Linked DNA regions of Homo sapiens: all the other regions are linked to region 5. The links are contacts of gene promoters, found by promoter capture Hi-C in blood cells and fetal thymus (Javierre and others, 2016). All regions are on one chromosome and are shown on one strand. The core of a region is centred on a gene start or on the middle of the fragment in contact, and the rest is flanking DNA. Distances in the headings are between cores, read along the strand shown. Region 1 overlaps MSH3 (mutS homolog 3). Region 2 holds the start of LINC01455 (long intergenic non-protein coding RNA 1455). Region 3 holds the start of THBS4 (thrombospondin 4). Region 4 overlaps LOC105379048 (a long non-coding RNA gene). Region 5 holds the start of SPZ1 (spermatogenic leucine zipper 1). Region 6 overlaps THBS4 (thrombospondin 4).

The links. Contacts are between HindIII fragments. The CHiCAGO score rates a contact against its expected background, and 5 or more counts as called.
Region 1: a contact is called between a fragment that was not itself captured here and the fragment with the promoter of SPZ1 in region 5, in 1 of 17 cell types (neutrophils). The highest score is 5.3, in neutrophils.
Region 2: a contact is called between the fragment with the promoter of LINC01455 here and the fragment with the promoter of SPZ1 in region 5, in 11 of 17 cell types (naive CD4 T cells, endothelial precursors, activated CD4 T cells and 8 more). The highest score is 11.0, in naive CD4 T cells.
Region 3: a contact is called between a fragment that was not itself captured here and the fragment with the promoter of SPZ1 in region 5, in 7 of 17 cell types (neutrophils, non-activated CD4 T cells, monocytes and 4 more). The highest score is 6.8, in neutrophils.
Region 4: a contact is called between a fragment that was not itself captured here and the fragment with the promoter of SPZ1 in region 5, in 1 of 17 cell types (activated CD4 T cells). The highest score is 5.0, in activated CD4 T cells.
Region 6: a fragment that was not itself captured here is called in contact with the fragment with the promoter of SPZ1 in region 5 in 10 of 17 cell types (neutrophils, non-activated CD4 T cells, activated CD4 T cells and 7 more); the score reaches 13.3 in neutrophils.

The regions. Positions count from the first base shown.
Region 1 is chr5:80,681,137-80,684,464 of GRCh38, reverse strand. The region is part of intron 8 of MSH3 (mutS homolog 3); the gene reads right to left. Among named protein-coding and RNA genes, the nearest start is that of DHFR, 28 kb to the right of the region's middle. The HindIII fragment of the contact is 1,819 bases long and covers 774-2,592 here.
Region 2 is chr5:79,935,173-79,938,128 of GRCh38, reverse strand. LINC01455 (long intergenic non-protein coding RNA 1455) reads right to left here and starts at 1,550. Exons shown (of 3, transcript NR_131226.1): 1 at 1,249-1,550. The region is part of intron 2 of LOC105379048 (a long non-coding RNA gene); the gene reads right to left. The HindIII fragment of the contact is 4,387 bases long and covers 1-2,956 here.
Region 3 is chr5:80,034,373-80,037,458 of GRCh38, reverse strand. THBS4 (thrombospondin 4) reads right to left here and starts at 2,111. Exons shown (of 22, transcript NM_003248.6): 1 at 1,834-2,111. The coding sequence starts at 1,921. The HindIII fragment of the contact is 2,246 bases long and covers 391-2,636 here.
Region 4 is chr5:79,866,377-79,869,248 of GRCh38, reverse strand. The region is part of intron 1 of LOC105379048 (a long non-coding RNA gene); the gene reads right to left. Among named protein-coding and RNA genes, the nearest start is that of LINC01455, 69 kb to the left of the region's middle. The HindIII fragment of the contact is 3,615 bases long and covers 1-2,872 here.
Region 5 is chr5:80,318,497-80,321,533 of GRCh38, reverse strand. SPZ1 (spermatogenic leucine zipper 1) reads right to left here and starts at 1,532. Exons shown (of 1, transcript NM_032567.4): 1 at 1-1,532. The coding sequence starts at 1,318. The coding sequence ends at 26. The HindIII fragment of the contact is 2,056 bases long and covers 108-2,163 here.
Region 6 is chr5:80,057,515-80,060,579 of GRCh38, reverse strand. It overlaps THBS4 (thrombospondin 4), which reads right to left. Exons shown (of 22, transcript NM_003248.6): 4 at 2,266-2,374; 5 at 1,790-1,872; 6 at 1,089-1,140; 7 at 675-877. Among named protein-coding and RNA genes, the nearest start is that of THBS4, 24 kb to the right of the region's middle. The HindIII fragment of the contact is 5,569 bases long and covers 1-3,065 here.

The sequences.
Region 1 (3,328 bases), core at 434-2,933, 360 kb before region 5:
AGAAATCAAAAAAGTAATCCCATTTACAATAGCTACAAATAAAATAAAATATCTAGGAGTTAACCAAAGAAGTGAAAGATCTCTACAATGAAAACTATAAAACACTGATGTAAAACATTGAAGAGAACACACAAAAAAGGGAAAGATATTACATGTTCATGAATTGGAAGAATAGTTCAAACATCCATACTACCCAAAGCAATCTACAGATTCAACGCAATCCCTATCAAAATATCAGTGACATTTTTCACAGAAATGGAAAAAATTAGCCTAAAATGTATATGAGCAACGAAAGACTCAGAATAGCCAAATATATCCTAAGCAAAAAGGACAAAATTGGAGGTATCACATTACCTGACTTCAAATTATACTACAGAGCTATAGTAACCAAAATGGCATGGTACTGGCATAAAAACAGACACACAGACCACTGGAACAGAACAGAAAACCCAGAAATAAATCCATACATCTACAGTGAACTCATTTTTGACAATGGTGCCAAGAACATACACTGAGGAAAGAATCTTTTCAACAAATGGTGCTGGGAAAACTGGACATCCATATGCAGAACAATGAAACTAGACCCTATCTCTCACCATATACAAAAATCAAATCAAAAATGGATTAAAGACTTAAATCTAAAATGTCACACTATGAAATGACTAAAATAAAACATTGGGGAAACTCTCCAGAACACTGAACTGGGCAAAGATTTCTTAATAGGGCAACCAAAGCAAAGATGGACAAATGGGATCACATGAAGTTAAAAAGCTTCTGCACAGCAACAGAAACAATCAACAAAGTGAAGAGACAACCCATGGAATGGAAGAAAATGTATGTAGACCACCCATGTGACAAGGGATTAATAACCACAATATATAAGGAGCTCAAACAACTCTACAGGAAAAATCTAATTATCCAATTTAAAAATAGACAAATTGAATAGACATTTCTCAAAAGAAGACATACAATGGCAGCCTGGTATGTGAAAAGCTCTCAACACCATCGTTCATTACAGAAATCCAAATCAAAACTACAATGAGATACCATCTCACCTCAGTTAAAATGGCTTTTATCCAAAGACATGCAATAATAAATGCTGGTGAGGATGTGGAGAAAAGGGAACCCTCACAGACTGTTGGTGGGAATGTAAATTAGTACAACCACTATGGAGAGTAGTTTGAAAAAAAACTACCAAAAAACTAAAAATAGAACTACCACATGATCCAGCAATCCCACTGCTAGATATATACTCAAAAGAAGGGAAATCAGTATATAGAAGAGATATGTGCACTCCCATGTTTACTACAGCACTATTCACAAGAGCTAAGATTTGCGAGCACCCAGGTGTCTGTCAGCAGACAAATGGGTAAAGAAAATGTAGTACATATATACAATGGAGTAGCATTCTGCCATGAAAAGGAATGAGATCCTGTCATTTGCAACAACATGGATGGAACTGGAGGTCATTATTTTACATGAAATAAGCCAGGCACAGAAAGATAAACTTTGCATGTTCTCACCTACTTGTGGGAGCTAAAAATTAAAACAACTGAACTCATGGAGATAGAGAGTAGAAAGATGGCTACCAGAGGCTGAGAAGGGAACTGGGGATGGTTAATGGGTACAAAAAAAATAGAAAGAATAAGACCTAGCATTTGATAGTGCAACAGAATGACTACAGTCAAAAATCATTTAATTGTACATTTTAAAATAACTAAAAGAGTATAATTGGGTTGTTTGTAACACAAAGGATAAATGCTTGAGGAGATGGATACCCCATTTACCCTGATGTAATTATTATGCATTGTATGCCTGTATGAAAGTATCTCATGTAACCCATAAATATATACATCTATTATGTACCTACAAAAAACTTTAGCCATGCCTGGCTAATTTTTGTATTTTTAGTAGAGATGGGGTTTCACCATGTTGGTCAGGCTGGTCTCGAACTCCTGATCTTGTGATCCGCCTGACTTGGCCTCCCAAACTGCTGGGATTACAAGCATAAGCCACTGCGCCCAGCCACAGAAAATTTAATTAAAATATAAAAAAAAAAACTTCCTCTTACAGAGAGCCTTCTACAGCAGGTACTATTTCAGGCGCTTTACCTATATTAACTTATTTAATCCTCACAACAACCCCATGAGGTAAGCACTCTTAATACCCCCAATATAAAGGACACTGAAGGACAATACAGTAGATAACTTACTCAAAGTCACTAAAGGGAAGAGCTAGTTTTCCAACTCAAACCCTGAGTCACAAGAGTCCACACTGTTTGACCCCTGCTAACTTTTGAATTTCCTCTACTTCATTCTGTCCATAGATATAAATTAGCTGTAGGAACTCCACAGAAATGCAGATTTAACTTTTGACTTCGCTTAGTCCAATATGCAAATAAAGTGAAAATGATCAAAGGATACAAAAAAAAGTGCAAAGATTGAAAAATTACACACGGTCAGTAAACATAGAGAAAATTATTTACAATGCTAACTAGAGAAATTCAAATTAAAATAAGACAAAAGCAGGCATTAAATTTGGTAAAACCCACATAAGACACCTAAATTATCTTTGATATGCCAAATTCAAGCTTTTAAATCTCATGTGATGAACAAACATTTAGGAATATCACCAGTCAATGAATGCTGCTTGACAAACAAAAATTCACTTTTGACAATGTCATTATGAAATATTTTGATATTTTATTGAATTTCGCCATTGTTATTTTATAAAATTAAGCAGAAAACAAAAAAATGAATGTGTTGATAAAATTGATTGACTTTACTCAATCTAAATTAATAAAATATATACTAAGTTAATAAAATATATACTAAGTTAATAAAATATAAAGAAAAATGAACTAAATCAAAGACAGGAAATCATAATTTATCCATTTATCATAATTTATCATAATTTATCCATTCCATTTCTATATTCATTTTTTCAGTATTACAAATACTGTTATGATGAATATCCATATATAGAAATATTCATGTGCATTTCTGATGATTTCCTTAAGATAAATTCCTGAAAATGGAATTAACTGGATCAGAGGGTATGAATGTTTATAAAGCTCTTGATCACCATTTCTCATATTACCATTTCTAGCAAGGAAATGATAGGAAATATTGAAAATACAATATAGAAGCCTACCTTTAAAAATTTTTTTCCAGATTTTATTAATTTTTTTAGTTCTGTAAAAGCAGCTCTCCTTACAAGTTTACTGTTTGACTTTTAATTATTCAAGTTTGAACACATGGTCAGAAAAGGATTAAGATCAAAATGAAGAGATTTGATGCAAAATTTTTCATCTATGTGACTGGCAAAG
Region 2 (2,956 bases), core at 301-2,800, 380 kb after region 5:
AGAGGACATCTGGGTGTTTGTGCCCTCTGGAGGGCCCAGGCCCATTAAGCCCACTGATAAATGGAACTCTAGGCCAGTGGTTTCTCAGACCCAAATTAGTAAAATATAAAAAACAAGTCGAGGCTGCACGCAGTGGCTCACGCCAGTAATCCCAGCACTTTGGTAGGCTGAGGTGGGCGGATCACTTGAGGTCAGGAGTTCAAGACCAGCCTGGCCAACATGACAAAACCCCCTCTCTACAAAAAATACAAAAATTAGCCAGGGGTGGTGGCGCATGCTTGTAATCTCAACTATTCAGGAGGATGAGACCTGAGAATCAGTTGAACCTGGGAGGCAGAGGTTGCAGTGAGCCGAGATCACACCCTACACTCTAGCCTGGGGGATAGAGTGAAACTCTATCTCAAAAACAACAACAACAAAAAACAAGTCAAGAGGGGACCTACATAGGGAGTCAACTTTTAATTTTGCCAAATGACAGATTAACTAAAAACAAAAACCAAAAGCCCCTCTGTCATATCTTTATCATAGCTGAACTTGTTGACCCCAAGTAAGTGATCAAAACATAATCTGGCTTTGGGAGGCTGAGGCGGGAGGATCATGAGGTCAGGAGTTTGAGACCAGCCTGGCCAATATGGTGAAATCCCGTCTCTACTAAAAATACAAAAATTAGCCCGGCATTGTGGCATGCCCCTGTAATCCCATCTACAGGAGGCTGAGGCAGGAGAATCAGTTGAACCTGGGAGGTGGAGGTTGCAGTGAGCCAAGATTGTGCTACTGCACTCCAGCCTGGGCGATGGAACGAGACTCTGTCTCAAAAAAACAAACAAACAAAAAAAAAGAGTTAAGAAAAAGAAAAAAGCATAACCTCAATTGTTTTTTTCCCAAAATGTGTTAGCAATTTCATTCTCTCTCTCTGTCTCTCCCTGTCCATCCATCCATCTACCTATCCTTTCATCCATCTATCCATCTATCTATCTATCCACATATAAATAATTATTCTTGTTTGTCTCACTTCACTTTAGACTTGTAAAAATTTCATCATGAATGAGTCACTACTCCCGCCTTCCCTCTTTGCTGGGTGCATATCCCTGCAGCACTAGTGTTGAAAGGTATATAATTTCATGGGCTCCTGGAAGAACCAGAAGACATAGCACACCCCTGCCTCAATGGAAGTCTGACATCTCCGTGTGGTGGTGGGTGGGGCAGGGAAGGGGGTGGACAAGGGGGAAATGCTAGCACCCTACTCACCATGATGAAGAATCAGCATGGGTTTGAGACGCACCTTATCCCAGGTGCTTGCCTGAAACATTCTCAAACAGCCCACACATTCCTCTTTTTCTCCCACCTACTCTCCAGTTTTCTCTTATCCATCTCCCCACTTCTTCCTGCTCCTACCAGTATAGTGATTCATAGAGCAGTATTTATACTAAATATGTTGTCATTAACAAATCCTCAACCATCTTGGTCTTTGCCTTTAAAATTCAGATATTAAAAATTATATATAGTCTGTTTGGAGAGACGGATAAGCCAAAATTATTTTCTGCAGTTGCAAAGCATGCAACTTCTATTCATCATCTTTATGTTTCTGTTATGTCAGTGGAGTGTGGTCATAATCCCAGACTGGTTACTGAATACACAAAATGATTTAACTTCTGAAGGGATTACCTCAACCCAGAGCTCCGGTTCTTATTAGCAAATGGGAAAAGCTGGAAATGCTAATAAGTGGGATAATTGAAATAGATTGGGACTCTCTCGGGTATTTGCAGGTGTGGAAATATGAACAATGTAATCATTTAATTGTAAGGAAACTGCTAAATAACTTCCACCCCAAATTACTGAGACTACGTAGATAGAGCTGGGGAGAGCTTGAAGGGAGAGCCAGAGAAGGCTGTGGATTTGGTGTGCTGTGGAAACTCAGGCAGGGTTTCACAATCCTCAAGCAGCTGGGGGCTGATGTGAATCAGAAAATGCCTCCACCCTACACCCTAGCACTATTGAGGGCTTGATTTCACACAACTCTTGAAATTGAAATCATGAGGAGAAAGACATCTCTTTTCTTTCTCTTTTTCCTTTTTTTTAAGGTCAGAATTAACATCAAAAGTTCACTTTGTTTAAAAATGGAAACAGTTCCAGTTTTGTTTAGTTTTTTTGTTTTTTTTTTAACAAGCAACCTTGAGTTGAGAGATTGTAATTGGCAGTCTTCCCACTCCTCCTCAAGCCCAGTTTGACCTATTTTAAAACCCTAATTTGCTTCTTTGGAGGCCAGGAGGCATAATATACAGGTGATTTTTTCCTGCTCAGTTTTCCCACCCATCTGCCAAGGTAGTACATGATGGAAGGAAGACAATCGCAAGTCTAGGCTCCCAGGCTGGGCTGGGAGTAGGAGAAACAGAAGAGGCATTAGCTCTGGCTGGCGCTGGTGGGGCAGGGCTGTGCAGCCAGGCCGAGGGAGCAGTAGCGAAGCTAAGCTGTCTGAGGTGAGATCTGGGTTAGGGGCATGGCAGCAATCTATAAAATATGTTAAAAGATTCCTGGAAATGGAATGGGATGGAGAAAATAGTATTTCCCATAGCTCTTTTTCAGGAAGAGAAATGGAACAATCACTTCATCAGCTGCTGGAGGGTAATTAAAGGGGAGATGTTGAGATAGTTAAGGGGCTTTTTCAAGTAAAACTTACACGAAGGGCTTATTGCCCGAGCAGAGGATGCAAGCTGAGGCCAGAGCTGAACTGCTTACACCCATAGATGAGAGGCAGAATGCCACCACCAGGAAGCCTCCATATTCACCAGTCTGCCACACAGAGCTGCTCATTAGTCTTCTTCTCTAAATAGATGTTGAATAAATCTTTCATTGATTTGAAGAGATTCCAAACCACTCAGGACCCACACAGGCCTGAGATGGCCTGGCTTGAAGTTCCGTGGTGGTGGGATGAGCAGAGACCACTGAATCCCCGGAA
Region 3 (3,086 bases), core at 264-2,763, 280 kb after region 5:
ATTACTGCTACCAATGAGCGCAGCTACCATGGTATGTAAATTGAATATATACTAATTTAAGACCAACAATGAAGCTCAGGGGAAGAAGGAGATAATCAAATTATCCTGTTAAGCCTGATAATTGCAGACTAGATAATGCAATAAAAGAATCTATCAGAAACTTAACTTAATCAGATCATCTACAGCAACTAAATTACCCAGATAATTTAGGTTGTATAGGCCGAGTTCAAATCTCCATAAAATGGTCAGGTATGTCTGAGACATACCTAAGGCACACCATAAAGCTGTATGTTCAAAAGTCAAGAACGTATATAACACAAAAAAATTATACCTATAAATTTGAACTTGCCAAATATCATCACAATAAGACTTTTGAAGTGTTTAAAAGCTTCCTTTTTTACCTTCCTAGAAGTATGGGGCACGGACTACAGCATTTCAAATACTTCAACACAAACTAAAAGTTAGCAGTACTCTAACCCCTGAAACCACAGTTCTGGTTGTCTGGTCTGGAATGAAAATGAGTTATTTGGCGAAATGCAGTTTAAATGGGTGATTCCAGCAGCGAGAGGCAGGGAAGTTGAGAACGCCCTCATAGGCAGTCTTTGCTCTGGCTACAAGAGGAAAAACAACTTTTACTTCAAGTTGTGCGTCTCTTCCAGTTTTACTTCCACAGTCAGTAATAAATCAACCCAGGCACCAAGTTCAAACAGATGAAGCTCACGCCTGACCAGTTAGGGCCAGTTATAGCCCTAAGATCTTTCTTTGCTTAAATCATGTCTTCCTTTTGGTCTTTACAAAAAATTCTGTTTAACTGCTTTCTACCCAATGGCTATTTCACCCCATTTCACCAAGGGGTTTGAGGATTGTCCAAGTATCTTTTCACATTATTTGTTGAATTTTTACCGTTTCATAGAAAAAGATCAATTTCTTTCTTTTTTCTTTTTAAATTATAGATTCAGAGGGTACATGTGCAAGTTTGTTACATGGGTGCATTGCATAAGGTGGGATTTGAGCTTCTAGTGAACACATCACCCAGTGAACGTAGTACCCAATTGGTAGTTTTCCCAACCTTCCCCCCTACTTTTGGAGTCCCCAGTGTCTACTGTTTCCATCTTTATGTCCATATCTATCCACTGCTTAGCTCCCGCTTGTGAGAACATGGTATTTGCTTTTCTGTTCCTGCCTTAATCCACTTAGGAAAATGGCCTCCAGCTGCATCCATCTTGCTGCAAAGAACTGATTTCATTGAAAAAGACCAGTTTCTCAGCCCTTCCTATTTACCTCAGAAATTAAGACATCAAGCCAATCCTTGAAATAAACTTTCTTTTTGTCGTTCAAGCAAAGTCAGAGCAGAAAATGCAGGTGGCAGGGCAAGTAGAGTAATTCTGCGTCTTTCTCAGGGATGTCAAGAGCAGACTCTGGGCATACATCGCTCCGCCTGAGGAAGGATTTAGGGAGCAAGGCTGCCTGGAGGGAACCGGCACAGGGTGCAGGACCCGGAATTCACCCTACACCAGAGCCTAACATGTTAAGAGGTCTAGGACCGTGTAGCAAGTTTTGAAGGCAACCCCACCCCACATCTTTGCATAGTCTGAAACAATTTTGCATCCCCCAACTATTTAGGCAATTGTTCTCATCATTGGATAATCGAATTTCGGAAAATTCTAGACTAATCACTACCTCCAATCACAATATGCTTTGATTGGGCCCGGGAGGGACAGAGAGGGGCTGAGCAAGGCCACAGGAGCACAGGGCCGAGCAAGTCCCTCCACTCACTCAGCAGATGGGGCACCCGGTGCCCGGCGCTCCCAGGCCCGACCCGAACCCACTTACCCTGGGGGGTGGCCTGGGCGCCTGCCGCTAGCCACCGCTGCAGGACCAGGTGCAGCAGGAGGACGGCGGCTCCGCGCGGGGCCAGCATGTTGGCTCTTCCTGCTCCCCGCGAGGCCGGGGGCGACGGCGGCGTTGGCCCCGCCTGGGGGTCCCCGGGCCGTGCGTTGAACCTCGGTCGGCGCCCGGGCCGGCGCCGCAGGTGACCCGTGCTCGGCGTCCGGGCTGCCGTCGGGGGCGCGCTCGCGTCCCCGCCGTGCGGTGCTGGGGAGCTGGCTGCTGGGCTCCGCGGCAGCGGCCGGGCGCTTTATGGTGCGGCCGGGCGGGGGAGGGCCGGGGCGGGGGCGGCCCCCTTGGCGGGATCCCCTGTCCTGGGAAGAGCTGGGCAGCTGGAGCAGCGAGCCGGGGCCGCAGGGAGAAAGGCGCGGGTGTGAGGATGGGAAGGAGCCTGGACGGACCAGGTCCTGGGGTGGGTGTAGACACGGCCCCGACGCGCGAGGGTAGGGGCGAAGATGGGCAGTCGGGGCTGGAGAGAAAGGGGTGCTGAGCAGAGACCACAGGGGAGAAAGGAGCGGGAGGAAAGGGGCGAAAGGGAGGAAGAAAGTGACACTGACCCACTAGCTTTGGGCACCTTCAGTCCCCTACTCCTTGCGCTCCTTTTGTTTTCTAAAAAGAAGAATATCCTTTGGATCGGCTTTGAATGCCCACCTTGGGTTCCCTTGCGAATGAATCCTGAAGTTCTCCAGGAACGCTCTGCCTCCTAAAGTGGCCCAGAGAGCAGCGAGTTTCTTTTATTTCTTCAAGCTTTTCTTGAATACTTGAAAGGCTGAATTTTTTTCTCTATCATTTTGAGACACAGTGAAAGTTTGAAAGTTGTTGTGTTTTTAATGGAGATAAAACACATCTCAAGGAATCCATCCAGACAGAGCCATTTCTAGGCTGGTGAATCTGTGCTTTATGGATAATTCGTTTTCAGTATGGTTTCCAAACGCCCTGCTTGCCCACCTCTATTCCTCTGTCACCAAAGATTCCGTGTGACAGTTTAAAGGTACGGGAGTAGAACTTGAAAGAGATCGGAGGAACGCAAGTAATTCGTCCTTTTCCTGGGCAAAGCTCCCGGAATGATATGGATTAACTAGAGGAAAAAATATTTGATAAACAGTGGCAAAAATTTCTCCTCTGTAACAATCTCGACTAATGGAGAACATCCAGCAAAGTATTGCTATCTCTTTTATGTCTCAAATAATTCCATTTCA
Region 4 (2,872 bases), core at 4-2,503, 450 kb after region 5:
GACTGTGGTCTTGCAAGAACCAAGTCAGACTTCTGACCTACAGTGCTGGGAAATAATACATTTGTGTTGATTTAAGCCACTAAGTTTGTGGTAGTTTGTTGCAGCAGCAAATAGGCACCTAATACATGGGGGATACGAATAATTCAGTCTAAGTAGTCACTTCAGGAAAACTTTTCACCAGTTCTTCAACATTTAACATCACACTCTGCAGTTGCCACACTCAGGTATGACATCTTCCCCAAATCAACTTGCTTTACTTTGGCTTGACTAGAGGGTTTATCTTGGTAACTTCCTTGAAAACAAGGGAATCTGTGCCAACATTAAAGTGTCCATATCCAGAAACCCAAATGACAAGTTCCTTTTGCCAACGGTCCCCAAATGGCAGTGCCTTTGCTAAAATAACACACACTTTAGGTTGTTTTTCTCTAGGCACCCTGATACATCACAGCTATTTCTCCAAGTCATCTTCCCCGCATTCCCATTGCCACCATTGAGGTTCAGGCCAGCTTGTCACTTGCTTGAAGAATTGCCTTGCCCCAACTTTATTCCATTCTCAACACTAAAGTTGGAAGGCTCTTTCTAGAGTCTGATCAGCCTTCTGTTTGTAAGCATCAAAGACAGCCCACTGCTCTTAGGATAAAGTACACAACGCCCATGGCCTTCAGGGCTCTGTATGATTTAGCCCCTGGCCCTGTCTCCAGCCTCGTTTCCAGGACATGGAGAACCAGCATCAGCGTGCTTCAATCAAACATGCAGCCTCTGAGCACTTGACTGTCAAGCTGTGGAGTGGGTGGTGCAAAGCAGATTGCAATGGTTTTGTGGAATCCGGTCTGTGGGGCATAGCTCTAGCTGTTAAGGGTTGAATTGTATCCTCCCAAAATTCATATGTTGAAGTCCCAACTTTCAGTATCTCAGCATATGACCTTATTTGGAAAGAGGGTTGCAGATGTAGTTAGCTAAGATGGAGTCACACTAGAGTAGGGTGGGCCCCTAATTCAATATGACTGGTGTCCTTATGGAAAGGAGAAATTTGGCCACAGACAGGCATATGAGGGGCACACCACGTGGAGATTGGAGTTATGCTGCCAAGGGCCAAGGAACTACCTGAATCCCAGAGAGAGCCCTGGAACAGATCCTTCCCTAGCACCTTCAGAGGCAGCACGGTCCTCCCGACACCTTGGTCCTGGACTTCCAGTCTCCAGAACTGTGAGACCTTACATTTCTGTTGTTCTAAGTCACCCAGTCAGTCATACTTTGTTGCAGCAGCCCCAGGAAACTAATCTGGTTGAAATGTGGATACCAAAGTAGGGCTATGGGAGAGTAGCGAAGCTCGCATTTTCAGAGGTCCACAAAAATTATTAAAGTGAAGAATGAGAGTCGCTGCTCTTTATACAACATCATACTGCTTCTCAATTTCATGAAAACAAGTTGCTAAGAAGAATTTGTGAAAGGGGTGGGATCAGTCAGTTTGCCTTCTATGGGCCAATTTTGTTCTCCTCCTGAGAGATACTGCGGAGGACTCAATAACAACTCAATATTCTCAAAACATCAAACTTTCTGATGAGAACAAAGCATGGCTTTAATCTCTTTACTTTGCTCCTGATTCTTCTGCACAGTTGACCCTGATCCTCATGTTCTTTTAATTAAGACCAAAACGGACTTGACTCCTCAGTCCCAGTTAACAAGAGGTGAGGTCGGCTTGGCATGTCTGTGTTCCAAAAACTGCCCTGAGCAAAATGTGTGTATGAGAAAAGGCTTTGCCAGGGAAAGAGCAAGCCCGAGCAGCCACCCACCCCTTCCCAGTCAGCAAGACTCTCTTCTATTTGGGACCCAGGAGGCTCATCTGCAGGCAGCTGAGCCATCTCTTGGGAAGAAGGAGAAGAATGGGCCACAAGAGCCCCACTTGGGATGGGAGAAGCTAAAATGAAGCGCCAGGAACTGGGCCAAGGACTCAAGTTAGACTTGCTTATGGGACCGCAATCCCTGAGGGTCCTATTGGTGAGGCTGATGTGGCAAAGGCCTGGCTTAGCGTGAAGAAAGAGGAGGGGGAGAGAGGAGGACAAAAAAGAAGTGAGGGAGAGACCAAAAAGAAAGATGGAGGGAATGAGCCATCCGGTGCCTGATCCAACAATATTTCATCTGCAGGATCCTCCGTCCTCATCAGTCTGGCCACTCAGGAGCGGGCTTGTGCCCAGGCAACGTTGGCTTTCCATGTAGAAGGATTAGCCCGTGCCAGGTAAGGACTTCAGTCAAGGCCAACCCACCCCCCAAATACCATCACAACCACCCTGACATTTGCCTCAATTTTCTTTATTATTTGTTCCTATGGATTAGATCTTTGTCTTGGTACAAAAGTTGCATCTGAGACTTCTTGAATGTTTGCATGTTCCAGGCACTGTTCTAAGTACTCTGCATGAATTAACTGATTTCATCCACAATAGCTTTGTGAGGTAGGTACCATTATCATCATCTCCATATATCAGATGAGGAAACTGAGGTGCAAAGTGGCAGAGTAACTTGCTCAGGGTCATAAAGCTGGTAAGTGGTAAGGCCAGAATTTGAACCCAGTCTGGCTGGCTCCAGAGTTCACATTTTTTCCATTGCACTACACTAATTCCCAAAATGAAATCCAGTACATCAGGAAATTTACCACCAGGGCTTTCTAAACCATGTGTTGCTCCCTAATTGGGGCTCTTACGCTGAGAGTTTGTTTTGAAGATAATTAATGAGAAACATTTGGAACCCTGGCCTCTGAGCACCTCTCTGTAGTCCTCCAAATGGGTTCACTAACAATTAGTGTTCACACTTTTGTGCCTACCCACACACAGCCCTGAGCTGTGACTATAAATCAATACGGTGGATTCCACAAGTC
Region 5 (3,037 bases), core at 283-2,782:
CCTTTTCATCTGCTTTTGGTATTTTCTATCTTAGGCTGCTAGCTGACCTCATTTTTCCCCTAAGAGCTTTTCTTGCAACATGAATATTGAACTGGGTATTGCAAGCTTTCTTATTAAGACAAACATCCAGGCTTCTACAGGATCTGTCTTTTTTCCAAAATGTACCCTTCATTGCTTGCTTGTTCTGCTTATACATTTCTACTTTCTTTGCTTCTGATGGCTTCTGATTTTTCTTGTCCTGTTTATAGTTTATCTGAATTGGCTTCTCTTGCAGAGTTCCCTGTTTCTGATGATGGAGTTCCTTGAGAATCTCTACTCTCTGCTGTAAGATTTGGCATTCATTCTCTAGCAAAGCTGCCATCAACTGCAATGAATAGGTGTCATGGCTCAGTTTCTTCACCTGTTCCTCCAGCTCATGCTTAGCCGACACTTCATTATTTGGCTGGGTTTGGAAACCGACTCCATTATTTCCAAGAGTTTCACTTATGTCTTTCTGAGATTTCTGATAGGATTTTATCAGTTTACTGAGCTCAGTATGTTGTTTACTCCAGTGTTCTGCTTCCTGTAGTAACTGCTCCATGTTGTTCCTAATTTTCATAGTTTCTTCTTGAACATTAAGTCTGTTTTTTGCTTTTTCCTGACTTTGTTGAGTTTCGTTAAGGACTTTTTTTTCTTCTAAACGATTTACCAAATCTCTTGCAAAAACTTGTGCGGTGTTCTCAGAGTTCTGGTTTTCCATTATCATCTGCTGTTTCTTTTCATTGTCTTCTTTCTCTGGGGCTAAACTAACAGGCAGGTTTGTTGATAACATTTCATTGATTTTGTCAAGTCCTCTGATATTTTCTTTGTGGGCTGACACATCCTCAGTAATATTGGTTTCCAATATCATCTCCTGTTTCTTTTCATTGTCTTCTTTCTCTGGGGCTAAACTAACAGGCAGGTTTGTTGATAACATTTCATTGATTTTGTCAAGTCCTCTGATATTTTCTTTGTGGGCTGACACATCCTCAGTAATATTGGTTTCCTCAAAAAGTTCTTTTGCTTCTGTGATCTTCTCTTCAAAACCTGCCATATTTTTAAGAATATCTTTAATTTCTTTTAAGAGATTGTTAAACTTCTGTGCAGTCTGTTGTTCTGTAACTTGATGGCTGCTATTCTTTAGGAAAGGGAGAGAGCCCCAGGAGGAAGGGGAATGTGATCCAATTTCGAATAAGGCAATGGTAATCCTAGGGTCCAGATATTCTTGATGAGGATCAGGAGTAGGGTTAACGGTTTTGGAGATGGTGGGCATCTCAGCTGACTTAGCAGAGCTGGCCATCAGGACAGAAGGAAAGCAGAAAACTTTAGAGATTCCAGGAAGGACAGGTGATGGTCCTTTGTGCAAATGTGGGTGGAGACTGTGGAATCAAGCAGAAGTCAGAGACCAAAGTTAAGGATTAAAATTTGGGAGATGATGTTTAGGTGGAAGGTGGCATCTCAGACAGCCTTGTGGGGAGGAAGGGTGGGAAAGGGGACCAAGGCTGGGGCTCCATCTCTTCTCCTCTAGGCACCCGGTGTTTATTCTCTGGCCCTAGCAACCAGGTCTTTATTTTGTCACTGCACCATTGTGGCCTATCCATAGTGTCTGTCTCCTTTGTGTCACAATGGAAGCCTCTTAAATTCCTGCCCAGTGACTCCTGCATCAAAACCAACCTTGAGCTATCCCTACTCCTCATGCCAGAAAGAGCTCTACAATAGCTCTTCCCCTCCTTAATTTCTAGGTTGCTATTCATCTCAGTCTAAATGCACTCAGTTACTTCTCTACGTCACCTCTATCCCCTCACAATCCTGACCTCAACCGCAGCATGTTTTGACCACTTAAGGACATTGCTGAGACCAGTCCTCTCTGGTGAGGTCCCCATCCTTTCATAGCACCTAGAGGCTCTATTGCTCCCATTCTAGGAGAGATGTGACTGTAAGAGAAAGTTATCCACACAAAACAAAACCCTGAGAGTGACAGCCTTTTGTGATTTTAGGAAAGTAATGTCAGGAGTCCCTCCATTCAAAAATATTCTACTGCTCCAAGAAGGGACTATCTGAATGGTTATAATAGCAACACAATTACAAACTGGGACTTTTCTTGGCTTTGAATATAGGCATCCTTTAAGACAGGCTTGGCAAGCTTACTCACAAATCATTTACATCAGGTGATAGAAAACTTTGACTATTACTTTTCACAGTAACTTATTTGGGGATTTTTTTTTTGGCTCTTTTATTGATCCCCTAAGATTTCCACACTCTACACAGTAACTTGTTAAAATGACATAGTTATATTTCTAAAGTGTTTGATTAGAAGGGCATGGTAGTGTGTGCCTGTGGTCCCAGCTACTTGGGAGGCTGAGGCGAGAGGATCACTTGAGCCTGGGAGGTTGAGGCTGCAGTGAGCCATGACTGTGCTACTTAGTGCACTCCAGTTTGGGCAACACAGCAAGATCTATCACAAAAAATTAAAAAATTGGCCAGGTGCAGTGGCTCATGCCTGTAATCCCAGCACTTTGGGAGGCTAAGGCGGGCAGATCACTTGAGGCCAGGAGTTCAGGATCAGCCTGGGCAACATGACAAAACCCCATCTCTACTAAAAATGCAAAAATTAGCTGGGCATGGCAGCACACACCTGTAATCCCAGCTACTCAGAAGGCTGAGGCATGAGACTTGCTTGAACCCAGGAGGAGGAGGTTGCAGTGAGCTGAGATCGTGCCAGTGCACTCCAGCCTGGGTGACAGAACAAGACACTGCCTCAAAAAAAGAAATTAAAAATTAAAAAATAAAAAGCATTTGAAACAGGTAAATTCTCTAGTGGGTTATAGAAAGTAACAAGTTTATTAAACTTCTTGCATTTTAATAAGCTGCTTTCTTGTCTTTTTGTTCTTAGGAGTCAGGTCTTGTGAATATAGAACTCAATCAAAGAAACATTTCTTGTGTATGACTTTTTCCTGGCCTTCAAAATCTTGCTAGCAAGCACTTTAATAGAAATTTGCTTCCAGTCTTAAGGGAAAAC
Region 6 (3,065 bases), core at 88-2,587, 260 kb after region 5:
TCTTGTTGCCCGGGCTGGTCTCAAACTCCTGGGCTCATGTGATCCTCCTGCCTCAGCCTCCCAAAGTGTTGAGATTGCAGGCTTCAGCCACTAGGCTGGCCTGCCTAACCAGGGTCTTGAAACAGTCTCTTCTGGGGCTCTGCCAGCCGGTCAAATAGCTGGTATTTGCTGGATGTGCCTCCTCTGGGGCCCTCCCTGGGCACGTTTAGTTACTCATAGGTTACAGGGCCTCCCCCTTGTTGGTGTGAGATTCCCCTCTGCTCCTTTATTTTAGGAAGCCTGAAGAAATCCACGGTGACTCCTGAAATATACCCTTAGAAAAATCCTCCCCTTCCACATTTGCAAAAGTGGGGGAAAAACAAAATTGTAGCACAGACTATTTAAGAGAAATAACCAATGCAAATGTCAGCGTGTAAAGCAGAAACCTCAGCACTGTAGCCAATGGACCAGTAGAAGAGTTGGAAACACAGAGGAAAAATGACAAACGCAGCCATAACCTTGGGTCATGTCTCCTTCCGCCATCCCTTGTCTCAGGGTCTCCAAGCAAGTGGTTTCAATGGAGCCTGGAGGACAGCCCAAGTCAGCCCTTAATCATCAGCTTGGCTTCTTTTTCCAAAAGCTGCAGGGTGAGGAGGATACTTAGGGATCCCCTCCCAGTCTAAGTGAACTTTTACCTCATCAACATCAATACAGGTGATCCCGTTTCCTGTGTAGCCCTCGGGGCAGGGCCCACACTGGAAGCCATCTCTACTGTCGGTACATTGGACACCTCGGAAACATGGGTTGGAGTCACACCGACGAGGTGGGCGTGTTGGCGGTGCAGGGGGAGCCGGGGGCACCACCGTGCTTGGGGTCGGAGACTGAAACTTGAGAGGACCTAGAGAAAAACAATCATCCACAGGCGTATTCACCGCCAGGAAGATATACAGAAGGCAAAACAAAATTTGGTTTCCTATTGAACTTTTCCTCCCTCCCCTCCAACTATGTGGTAGACCTTCAGAAACTGCGGTCAACACAGCCTCACCGCAAGCCCTTCATCAGCCTGCATCATCCAACTCAGGCGAGCCCATTACTAGAAAAGCACTTACCGCAAGCCTGGCATTCAGCTATGGTGTTTCGCAAAAATGATGTTTCCTTAACCTTTAAAAATGAGAAGGGGAAAAAAGGATTGAAAAGGAATGCCTGATATCATCCAGGAATGAAAGAATCCATGTGGAGCTATCTATGTAACACTTTTTTTTTTTTTTTTTTTGAGACAGTCTCAGTCTGTCGCCCAGGCTGGAGTGCAGTGGCACGATCTCAGCTCACTACAACCTCCGCCTCCTGGGTTCCAGCAATTCTCCTGCCTCAGCCTCCTGAGTAGCTGGGATTATAGGCATGCACCACCATGCCTGGCTAATTTTTGTATTTTTAGTAGAGACGGGGTTTCACCATGTTGTTCAGGCTGGTCTCGAGCTCCTCACCTCGTGATCTGCCCACCTCAGCCTCCCAAAGTGCTGGGATTACAGTCATGAGGCACCGCACCTGGCTCTCTGTAACACTTCTTACAGTAGCGTTAGCAGCCCTTGATGGCTCCCGCTCTGCTTAGAGCCATGGTGTGTTCATCACGAGCTTGGACCCCATTTCCAGAGAACTTCCAGCAGAGCCCTGGCGTGCGGGGCTGCGTGGGCCCCCGGAGATCTGGCTCAGAGGCTGCCCCCGTGCCTGGGCAGGCCTGCAGCTCCACTAGCTTGTGGGGAGCTGCTCTAAGAAGACGAGGGCTTTTCTGATGATATGTCCCGCTTGTTACCTGCTGTCTCAGAAGGTCCTTCACCTCTCCCAGGAGTTGGTTTAATTGTGTCATTTGACCCAAGAACTGCCGGTTAAAGTCCCCTGTAGGAACAGCAAAAGGCAAAGAGTTTTCAGCCAGTGATGGTCATTTCTAAGTGACTCAAAACCAAATTATTCCCCAGGAAATCATCCTGACAAGATGATTCAAAAACCCAGAATCTTTGAATTTAATTTGGGGTAATTTCTTTAATTCAGCTAAAAAAAATAATGATAATGATGCCACTGACTAAGTCTAAATTCCATGTGAATCATAAAAATAAAAGCATAATGAAAATATTCTGTGCCCTGGATTTTGTTCAAGAGACTGATTTTCATAGATACGTTTTGTTGGGCTGCTCTGTTGACAGTCCCACTTTTCGGTGATGGGACCCAGCCTATTCAGGGTCTTTGGAGTTTGTGTTGATGAAGGCATGCAAACTGCCCAAGAGCCCACACCTGTGCCTGTGGCAGCCAGTGGCTCACTCTGCTGCAGGAAGCAGTCTTGCAGGCTGGCCACCTGGAACAGTGAGCCTCTCACCACCAGCTTCAGCTCTTCCAAGAAGTCCTGGAAGAAATCACATTCATACCACAGATTGCTGACACTGTTCAAAAGCCAATGTGCTTGCCTACTCACGCAATTTTCATAATCAAGTAGTCCTGTATACTTGGACCCTCTGACATCTTACATAATTTTGTAGGATCACATTTTTTCCTAAAGCCTGCCAGCCCTATCTTTTTGACTAAAGTGAATATGTAAGTAGCCAGTAGCCTAGGAAAATGCTGGCATTGTCACCAAGACAGCTGAGAAAACGAAAGGCTCTTTTCCTACATGGTAAAGGAGTTATTTTGTGGCAGGAGCCTCTTAAGAATTGTCTGTAATTTGTTTATGGAATTTAGATAATAATAAATAAGGTGTTAACCCCAATTTTAAACAGTATTATTTTTTGGTTGTCTTGGCTCAAGGGTCTAGCAAAGCCTCTGACTTCTTTGGGATATGAGAATGAATAAATGATATCTTCTATGATCATTAGGTAGTTGGCATCATATTTTTATATTACGGGTTGATATTATTCATTGTTAGTCAAAAAGTCAATGTCCTTGCCCTTTTATCTTGTGAATGCTGCTTGCAATCACCTTTATTATATCTATATACAACAAAACATTTATGTTAACTGCCAAAGTGAAGTCATCATCCTTATTTTAGAAATGAGCACAGCTAAGGATTTTCAGAGGAATTCTGCTTTTTGATTTAGCTA